3 separate regions of the Homo sapiens genome follow, and all the other regions are linked to region 1. The links are contacts of gene promoters, found by promoter capture Hi-C in human tissues and cell types (Jung and others, 2019). All regions are on one chromosome and are shown on one strand. The core of a region is centred on a gene start or on the middle of the fragment in contact, and the rest is flanking DNA. Distances in the headings are between cores, read along the strand shown.

The links. Contacts are between HindIII fragments. The study calls those that stand out against the background at their distance.
Region 2: a fragment that was not itself captured here is called in contact with the fragment with the promoter of CLU in region 1 in 2 of the 25 tissues and cell types used here (mesendoderm cells and thymus).
Region 3: a fragment that was not itself captured here is called in contact with the fragment with the promoter of CLU in region 1 in 1 of the 25 tissues and cell types used here (hippocampus).

Annotation. Positions count from the first base shown.
Region 1 is chr8:27,613,289-27,615,998 of GRCh38, reverse strand. It overlaps CLU (clusterin), which reads left to right and starts at 1,299. Exons shown (of 9, transcript NM_001831.4): 1 at 1,299-1,344. RefSeq lists enhancers at 1-211, 1,168-1,667 and silencers at 1,056-1,145, 2,701-2,710. The HindIII fragment of the contact is 13,101 bases long and covers 1-2,710 here.
Region 2 is chr8:27,902,493-27,905,304 of GRCh38, reverse strand. It overlaps SCARA5 (scavenger receptor class A member 5), which reads left to right. Exons shown (of 9, transcript NM_173833.6): 7 at 471-527. It overlaps LOC105379342 (a long non-coding RNA gene), which reads right to left and starts at 2,632. Exons shown (of 2, transcript NR_188147.1): 1 at 2,381-2,632. The HindIII fragment of the contact is 6,484 bases long and covers 1-2,812 here.
Region 3 is chr8:28,091,307-28,094,006 of GRCh38, reverse strand. ELP3 (elongator acetyltransferase complex subunit 3) reads right to left here and starts at 868. Exons shown (of 15, transcript NM_018091.6): 1 at 774-868. The coding sequence starts at 792. RefSeq lists enhancers at 1,193-1,242, 734-1,287. The HindIII fragment of the contact is 3,393 bases long and covers 1-2,700 here.

The DNA of each region.
Region 1 (2,710 bases), core at 50-2,549:
GACCTGGTCTGGGTTCTCCCACTTAGTCATGGGCCTTGAAGATTCCCCGAGGCTGCCTCCTGAAAAGGACTGGGGTCCTAGTGGCCCCTGGACGTTGGGCAAGCAAGGGACTGGGCCTCCATGTTGTGCCTCCATAGTCCTGATCCTGAACTGGAAAACTCAGCCCCTGACCACGCAGCTCTCCTTTAAGCCCCTTTGTTTCACATGGTTTTCAAAGTCTGCCACCCACAGTGGGGCTGCCTGTACCCGCCCTGTCCACCCATTGCCCCAGCTGTCAGCCCCTTGACTTCTCTCCTGGGGCTTAAACATCCCTGGCTCCAAAATGGGCAGCTCACTTTCTTCCCCAAGAAGTAGCTGCACCTCCAGGGTTCCTAGATTTGCCCCTCCTTGCCAGGGGGAGGGGTGGCTGCGACAGGAGATTCTCCCTGCTCTCAGCAGAAGGAACTCCAGCAGTTGGAGACCAGCAAACCCCTCTGGACACAGATCTGATTTCCTAACTGGGAAGGCTCAGGGCAAAATAAAAATTCAGGTCCACTGGTTCAAAAACTATGAAGAATTTCAAGACCGTCACAGTAGCCCATTAAACCAAACGTGGATCTGCAAGGGTCCCACAGCCATGAAGCCCACCCTGCTTGGTTGGGTTCCAAAAAGATGGGGACAGTGATTGCTTAAGCTCTGTGGATCAAGGACCCCGGAGAGGCCTTCTGGCTCTCCACATATCTGCTCTGATCACTCCTAAACACAATTCTGTTTCCTCCAGGCCTGGCGGGTCAGTCCAGGGACCCCCATCAGTGTGATGTTTCCAGGAGTAGGCGTTTCAATACTTCCTGTGCTCTCTTCTCCAGCACAAGGCCCCTCTCCATCCCACCCTCATTATGTCTGACTCTTTACTATTTAAATGGGTCAAGAGAAGTGGCGCTTGTGTAATGTGAAGGTTAAGGTCAGTAGGGCCAGGGAACTGTGAGATTGTGTCTTGGACTGGGACAGACAGCCGGGCTAACCGCGTGAGAGGGGCTCCCAGATGGGCACGCGAGTTCAGGCTCTTCCCTACTGGAAGCGCCGAGCGGCCGCACCTCAGGGTCTCTCCTGGAGCCAGCACAGCTATTCGTGGTGATGATGCGCCCCCCGGCGCCCCCAGCCCGGTGCTGCACCGGCCCCCACCTCCCGGCTTCCAGAAAGCTCCCCTTGCTTTCCGCGGCATTCTTTGGGCGTGAGTCATGCAGGTTTGCAGCCAGCCCCAAAGGGGGTGTGTGCGCGAGCAGAGCGCTATAAATACGGCGCCTCCCAGTGCCCACAACGCGGCGTCGCCAGGAGGAGCGCGCGGGCACAGGGTGCCGCTGACCGGTGAGATGTCCCCGTCTTCCCTACCCTTGAGCAGAGCCACACCAGGACGGATGGGCGGGCAGGGGATGGCAGCCAGGCAGAGAGGGATGACACAGCTCGCAGTCACAACCCCTGCGCTTTCGACGGAGCCCAGGAAGCCAGGGAGGGGAGGTGGCCGGAGCCCCATCACCAGGCAGCTGAGCCAGGGGCCCCGGCGCAACCGCCGCCTGAGAGCACGAGCTCCAACCACAATTCTGTGGTGGGGGGGTAAATAGAACAGATATAATGATCATCCTTTCGCAAAGATGGGGAAACTGAGACCTGGAGACCTGCCGCGTTGCGGGAGACCCAGGCTAGCAGGTGACAGAGCTGGCCTGCACCGAGCTCCTTCCTGCAGCATATCCTCTGCGAAGATGCGGATCTCTCAGTTGTGGCTTTCGGCTTGCATGCATGAGTCATCTAGTTTTCTTCTAAATTCTCTAGCTCTCTGGACACTGTTGCCTGTAAGTATGAGGCTGCGGATTTCAGTATATGCTGCAACCACCGAAATCCGACTTTTTCTGCCTCCTAATGCATCTGAGGTGCATCAGAGAAAAGTCACACAAGATCCACCAGGCCTCAGACCTCTGATTCCACAGTCTCATTTTACAGATGATAATCTGAGGCCTGGAGAGGTTTAGGACTGGTGCCAACACTAAACAGCAAATAAGTATCAGAATTGGGATTCGAGCCAAAGCCTCTTGACCTTCCAGAATTTCTGGACCTAGTTAAAAAAAATATGATTTTTATTATTATTTTTTAAACGGAGAGGTTAGGAATTTAAAGGAAAGTACAGATACTATATAAAAAAAGATGCCCATGAAAATGTTAAGTTATAATAATAGTGGAGCATTGGGCACAACTGAAATGGCCAATCTTGTGAGAATGGTAAAATAAACTTAGGTCCGTGAGTAAGTGGAGTATTACATAGCCATAAAAGTATGCCCTTAAAGAATATTTGAAGATGGTGAATGTGAAGAATCTTGTATAAACTGCATGGAAGACAGAAGGAAATATACCACAGTGCTAACCTTTGCCTCTGGGTGATATGAATTACCGGTGATTATTTTTCTTATTTTCCTTTTGGTTTAGTTTTCTCCATTTGAAGAAGCAGATAGGAGCCGGGGCTTTGGGATTGAAACCCTCACCATCTGTGTGCCCTCTTCACTGTCTTCCCATCCTCCCCACGGCTCCCTGTTCACAGTCATTGATTTTCTTTCTTTCTTTTCTCTCTTTTTTTTTTTTTTTCCTGAGACCAAGTCTCACTCTGTTGCCCAGGCTGGAGTAGAGTAGCGCCATCTCGGCTCACTGCAACCTCCGCCATCCGGGTTCAAGCAGTTCTCATGCC
Region 2 (2,812 bases), core at 163-2,662, 290 kb before region 1:
CTGGGAAGGAAATGCCACAATTCCCTGGTATCTCACACTTATGTTTTATGGTCTCTCCCACAAGAAAACCTGCTCAACATAGAACCCGCCTCTCCCCCTATTTAACTAAAGCCCCCTCTCCTTTGTTTTCCCCTGGGCTCATTAGAACAAACTTGGATGTGGACCTCTAAAACCTTGAGTGTTTAATAGGACTATCTTTGACTTGTCTTCTTCCTGCAAAATTCCATGTGCTCTTTGGTTCTTTACAAACGGGTGGGATTTTCTCACTCATGCCTCCTCCTTCTTGGGGTACCCAGGGCAGATGGCAGAATTGGCTGCCCTCTTCTCCTGCCTGCTGGGCTCTCCAGTTGCTGCTGGCTCCTGCCTGAGGGTTTCTCTGGTCTCGAGTTCATCAATCTCCTGCAGGTAATATTTTATTCACAATTAGGATTTCTTTCCATTTCTAATGCCAGTTTCCTCCTCTGTTTTAGGTGACCGAGGCCCAAAAGGAGAGAAAGGAGAGAAAGGAGACAGAGCTGGGGATGCCAGTAAGGACATTCTGCTGGGGCCGTGGGATATGGTGTTGGCACAGGGCTAGCTGTCCCCCAAGCAGCCCCATAAGTTTGGAGGTTCAGAGGCTGGAGCCATGGCTGGGGCTCAAGTGTCAAAGGAGGCTCCCTACCTTTTTTAGGGCTCTGCTGGTCTAGCAAGAGATGCTGATAGACCCCAGGGGCACTGGCCACATTTCTAGAGGTGTCATAAACCTGGCGGTTGTGTGCATGGATCTGGAGGCTTCCCCCGGTCACTCGCTAGCCCAGCTGGTATAATCTCTGTGCCTCAGTGTTCTCATCTATAAAATAGGGATAACAGGAGTCTTTACCTTATAAGGTCATTGTGAAAATTGAATGAGTTAATCTGTGTAAAGTGCTTATGATCATGCTGGACACCTGGTGAGGACTCAGTACCTGTTTGTGATTATTATTCTGTGTAATACACCCACTCAGACACGCTTCCTAAAATCATCAGAGGTGCTTGCACAAATTCAGCTACTGACCTTGTTAAAGGCCTCCCCTCCCTGGGTGTTACACAGGGAAAGGTGCAGAGACAAAGTGGCATCGCCTTTGTTTTCCCCATTTGCCACTGATGGAGGAGTGACGCTGGAGAGCTTGCGATCCGGCAGACCACCCTGTTAGTAATGGGCATCTTTCTGATGCGGTCCTTGCTAGAATGTTGACAAGGGGATCAGCTTATTTAGTTGTGCCACTCTTCTAAGGTTTACTTTTCCCCTAGAGAGGGCTACATGTAGAATCTTGGAGACTTGCCAGAGAAGAATGAACAGAGTCTCCTAGCCAAGTTTAAAAAGGAGCAAAAGAAAAAACACCAAACCCAGCATGTGGTGTTAGTTGGCTCTGTCCCACGTGAGGGCGCAAGCAGAATATCACTGCCTCTGGCATCTAGGCTCCGGTCTTGGCTCTGGGAGGATGGGGCCTGGGGAAAGAGTCCCTGTGTTAATAGCTTCCCCCCGGACACTCAGGGACAGGGGCCACTGCAGAGTCACAAGCTGGACACAGAAAGGGGTCTCATGACACCCAAATAAATCAAAGACTATCAGCCCCACCAAAATTCAACGCAATACCACAACCTACAGCACCACTAATAATTAGCCATAGGCCTCCATAAATAGGAGAAGGTTTCGAAGAGAAACCTACAAATCCTACAACCAAAAGGACACTTAAAACAAATAGAGCATATGCCATTATTCCCACATGGGCGATAACCATGACTAATGACATGAAAAATTATTGTTGTGCTTCAACTAGAAGAACACTAATGGCCAAGACCTGCAAAACACACCCGCTAATAAAAATTATTAATTACTCATTCATTGATCTTCCCACACCATCTAACATTTCTATATGATGAAACTTTGGCTCACTTCTTGGTGCCTGCCTAATCCTCCAGATCATTACACGATTACTCTTGGCCATGCAGTACACATCAGACACTTCAACTGCCTTCTCTTCAGTTGCTCATATCAGCTGAGATGTAAACTACAGCTGAATGGTCTGCTATTTTCATGCTTCCTTGGTCTCACTAGGTCCTTCAGATGAGATCAAGCACACTCAGGATGGTATGGTGCAGTAGGCCCTTCACATCACACTTTAGTCCCAGCTGTGCAGGACCAGAAGGAGACCTCACTCCCAAAAAGAGGCCTCCCCAAGGCCCCCTGACACTTAAACTTGCCCCTGCTTTCTCTCTGCCCTGCCCTCCCCTCCCTGAGGCATGATTCAGGATCAAATAGGAGCAAGGCAGGTGACAGCACCTTGTCCTTGAAAGTGATGGACTTGCCCGTAGAAAAACAAGGAAATGCCCAGGCTGATCCTGGACCCCCCACACTCACCTCACCTGAAGTGCTAAAGTCCACAAGGCCATCTGCGAGCTTCACAGTACTTCTAGCATTCTCTAGAGTCCCTTTCCAGGGCTGCTTAACTGGGTGTGTCTGACTGAATGAGGCCATCTAGTAGACCTGATCTGATCCCTTTTGTCTAAAGGGCTGGGTCCTGAATGCTGTCTTCGGGGTGCTGTTTTTCCCTGCTCTGTTTGTTGACTGGTTTCTGACAGAATGCTGCCAAGGTAGCTGAGAAGGATCGTGGCATTTAGTTCTGAGAAATAAACAACTCCTGATGGGGGTGGGCAGGAAGGGAGGAACTATGTGGAAAGATGGCTTTGAGATCAGAAACACTGCCCGCATGCCAGAGGGGCTCTTGTTGGGAATTCTCTGGTGGCTCTTCTTTCAGCAGACTTGAGAGAGCAAGTGAGGAGGTCGAGCCAG
Region 3 (2,700 bases), core at 193-2,692, 480 kb before region 1:
TTTTTGAGGTCACAGATACAGCCTGACCAGCCAGCTCCATATCTAAGTATAATTTTGGTCTGGGAAAGTTACTTAACTCTTTGAATCTCAGCTTCTTCATCTGTAAAATGGAAATGATACCGACTTCAAAATACAAGCTCAATAAATGGTAGCTATTATTCTGACAACAATTACCATGATTAGACCAGCTGGTCAAATGAAATAGGAACAGAACCTGTGAGATACAGAAATAGGAACAGAACCTGTGAGAGAATATTTCAAATTTGAATCCGTCCTGTTGAAAAACCAAAGGTGGAATTGTTCATTGCTAACTCATGATGTAATAAAAATGGGAATAATTGCATGCACAACTCTTACACTGAATCCAAGGATAATTAAGGTTTTTTTAATATCTTAAAATAAGGCTTTAAAAGAAACTCTCTAACACGTCAAATGTGTCGTGAAACAAATCTTAACAAATGAAAAGTCCTACAACCCGTTAAATCGACGTTAACTCCTCGGAGGGCATATATTGGAATAATGGTTTCCCTGCCATTCAAACAAGACACCACGTGACTGCCAAAGAGGAAGAGAGGAAGGGTAGGGTGCTTCAAAAAGCAAAACAGGAAAAACGAGAAGGCTCGGGGACCAGAATGGACACACTGACCCTAGGTGGCGGGGCGACTGGACTGGGTAGCGGATTCTCGCGGTAAAAGTTCGGTTCAGCATTTGATTGCCTGGGCGTTCGCCCCTTTCGGACCACCCCTTTCCCCCATCTCCTTCCCCTTTCGCACCTTTCCGCTTCTGCCTCATTTCTGCGCCGCCGTAGCAGAGCCACCAGAGATAAAAATGCAGCCACAAACTCAGACCACGGGGAAAGCTGACAGCCACAAAACAATCCCGCCTGTCGTAAAATGTCGGTCAATGTATCGTAAAGCTCTTCCCGGAAGCCGACGTGCACAAAGCCACGCCCCGCCCCGTGTTGCAACTAACAGGGTAGCAGGCGGCCCGTGAGGCCCCTAGGCTGCGATCCTGCCCCGGGTCTCAGGGATGGAGGATGGGAACGTCTGAACGGAGTGGCATCTTGGGGTTAGAAAGCTCGACCTGGGCAGTACAGCTATGGGACAGAGTTCCTGGATAGAGGCTGCGCCAGGAAGCCTAAGTGAAAGGGTGGAAGTGGATGGTCTCTCATGGGGGGGAGTGGGAGCCCAGGGTCGTCACATCCGGGGAGGGTGGGTGGGAACGCGAATGGGCGAGACCACGGAGGAGGAACCCTCCCATGTTGTGGAAACTAACTGAGGGCCTGGAAGAGACCAGGCGGGAATCGAGTAAGAATCCGAGGTGCAGGCTTTGGGACCAGGTGGTCACCTTGGTCTTAGATGAATGGCACATATGATCGGTAACCATCGTGAAAGCTGTGGATGTCTCTTGTGGAAGGAAAATAACATCTCGGGACCCTAAACTCTGCCAAAGAAAAAAGTTAAGCTTAGGGCCGGGCGCAGTGGCTCACACATGTAATACTAGCACTATGCCCATCTCAGGAGGCCAAGGCCAGCAGATCATCTGAGGTCTGGCATTCAAGACCACCCTGGTCAACATGGTGAAACCCTGTCTCTACTAAAAATACAAAAATTAGCCAGGCGTGGTGGTGCACGCCTGTAATCCCAGCTACTTGGGAGGCTAAGGCAGGAGAATCTCTTGAACCCGGAAGTGGAGGTTGCAGTGAGTGGAGATCATTCTCTGTTGTCCAGCCTAGACGACAGAGCGAGACCCTGTCTCAACAACAACAACAACAACAAAAAGTTAAGCTTGTGAACTGAGTCACGCAAAAACTGCCTTCCTTCTGTTCCTAAACAGCTGCAAAGACAGAAGCCCACATATCTCCCTAGGTGGCCTCCCAGAGGAGTTGCTCACAGGGAAATTCCTTGTGAGTGGCAGAGTCTTTACCTTACAACACTTCTGTTGAATTCCACCCTGACCATGCAAATTTACAGTAGGTAGGGGACAAGGACAAGACTAGAAATCACCCTTCAGTCCACCCCAAGAAAAATGCATATTTGACTCCTTCCTCTATGTTTACTTTGTCTTCTGTAAAAGGCAGATTTACTGAGTGTGAAATGAATGCATAGTTGTTCCTCTTTCCCCTTCTGTCTGCTCTTTCCCTTTAAATATTGAAGTCCTCAAAACCCTCTTTGGAAAAACCACAGGCCACAGATTCCATGATAACTTATGTCTCTTTTTCCTGGGTGTGTCCTCAACCTTGGCAGAATAAACCTCCAGACTGAGACCTGTCTCAGACACTGTTTGGTTTACGTTCTCCAGAAAAATACACAGGCACAAAATTTTGCAAAATTTGGAGGCAGGACTTGGGATGTTTTCCTGAAACCCATCTATGATCTCCTTTGTCCATGGGCTGGAGATTAAGAACCTCTCCCATTAATAAAGACAGGAATATGTACCCTACTAGAATTGAGGCAACAACGAGGCTTTGACCCCACTATGACACTGAAACTGGCCTTGCTAAGCTTTGTAACTTCCCAGCCTGCCAAGTTCAGTGGTATTTGTCTGACCTCATTGTCATCCTATACCAATGAACATAAGTTCTCCTCTGTAAACCGAAAATAATTCTCAGCCCAGGGCATTCCAAAGTTAAACTGAAAAACTAGCTCAGGCCATGATGGGAAGTGGGGTTGGACATGCCTCCTTATTCCCTCCTCCTTT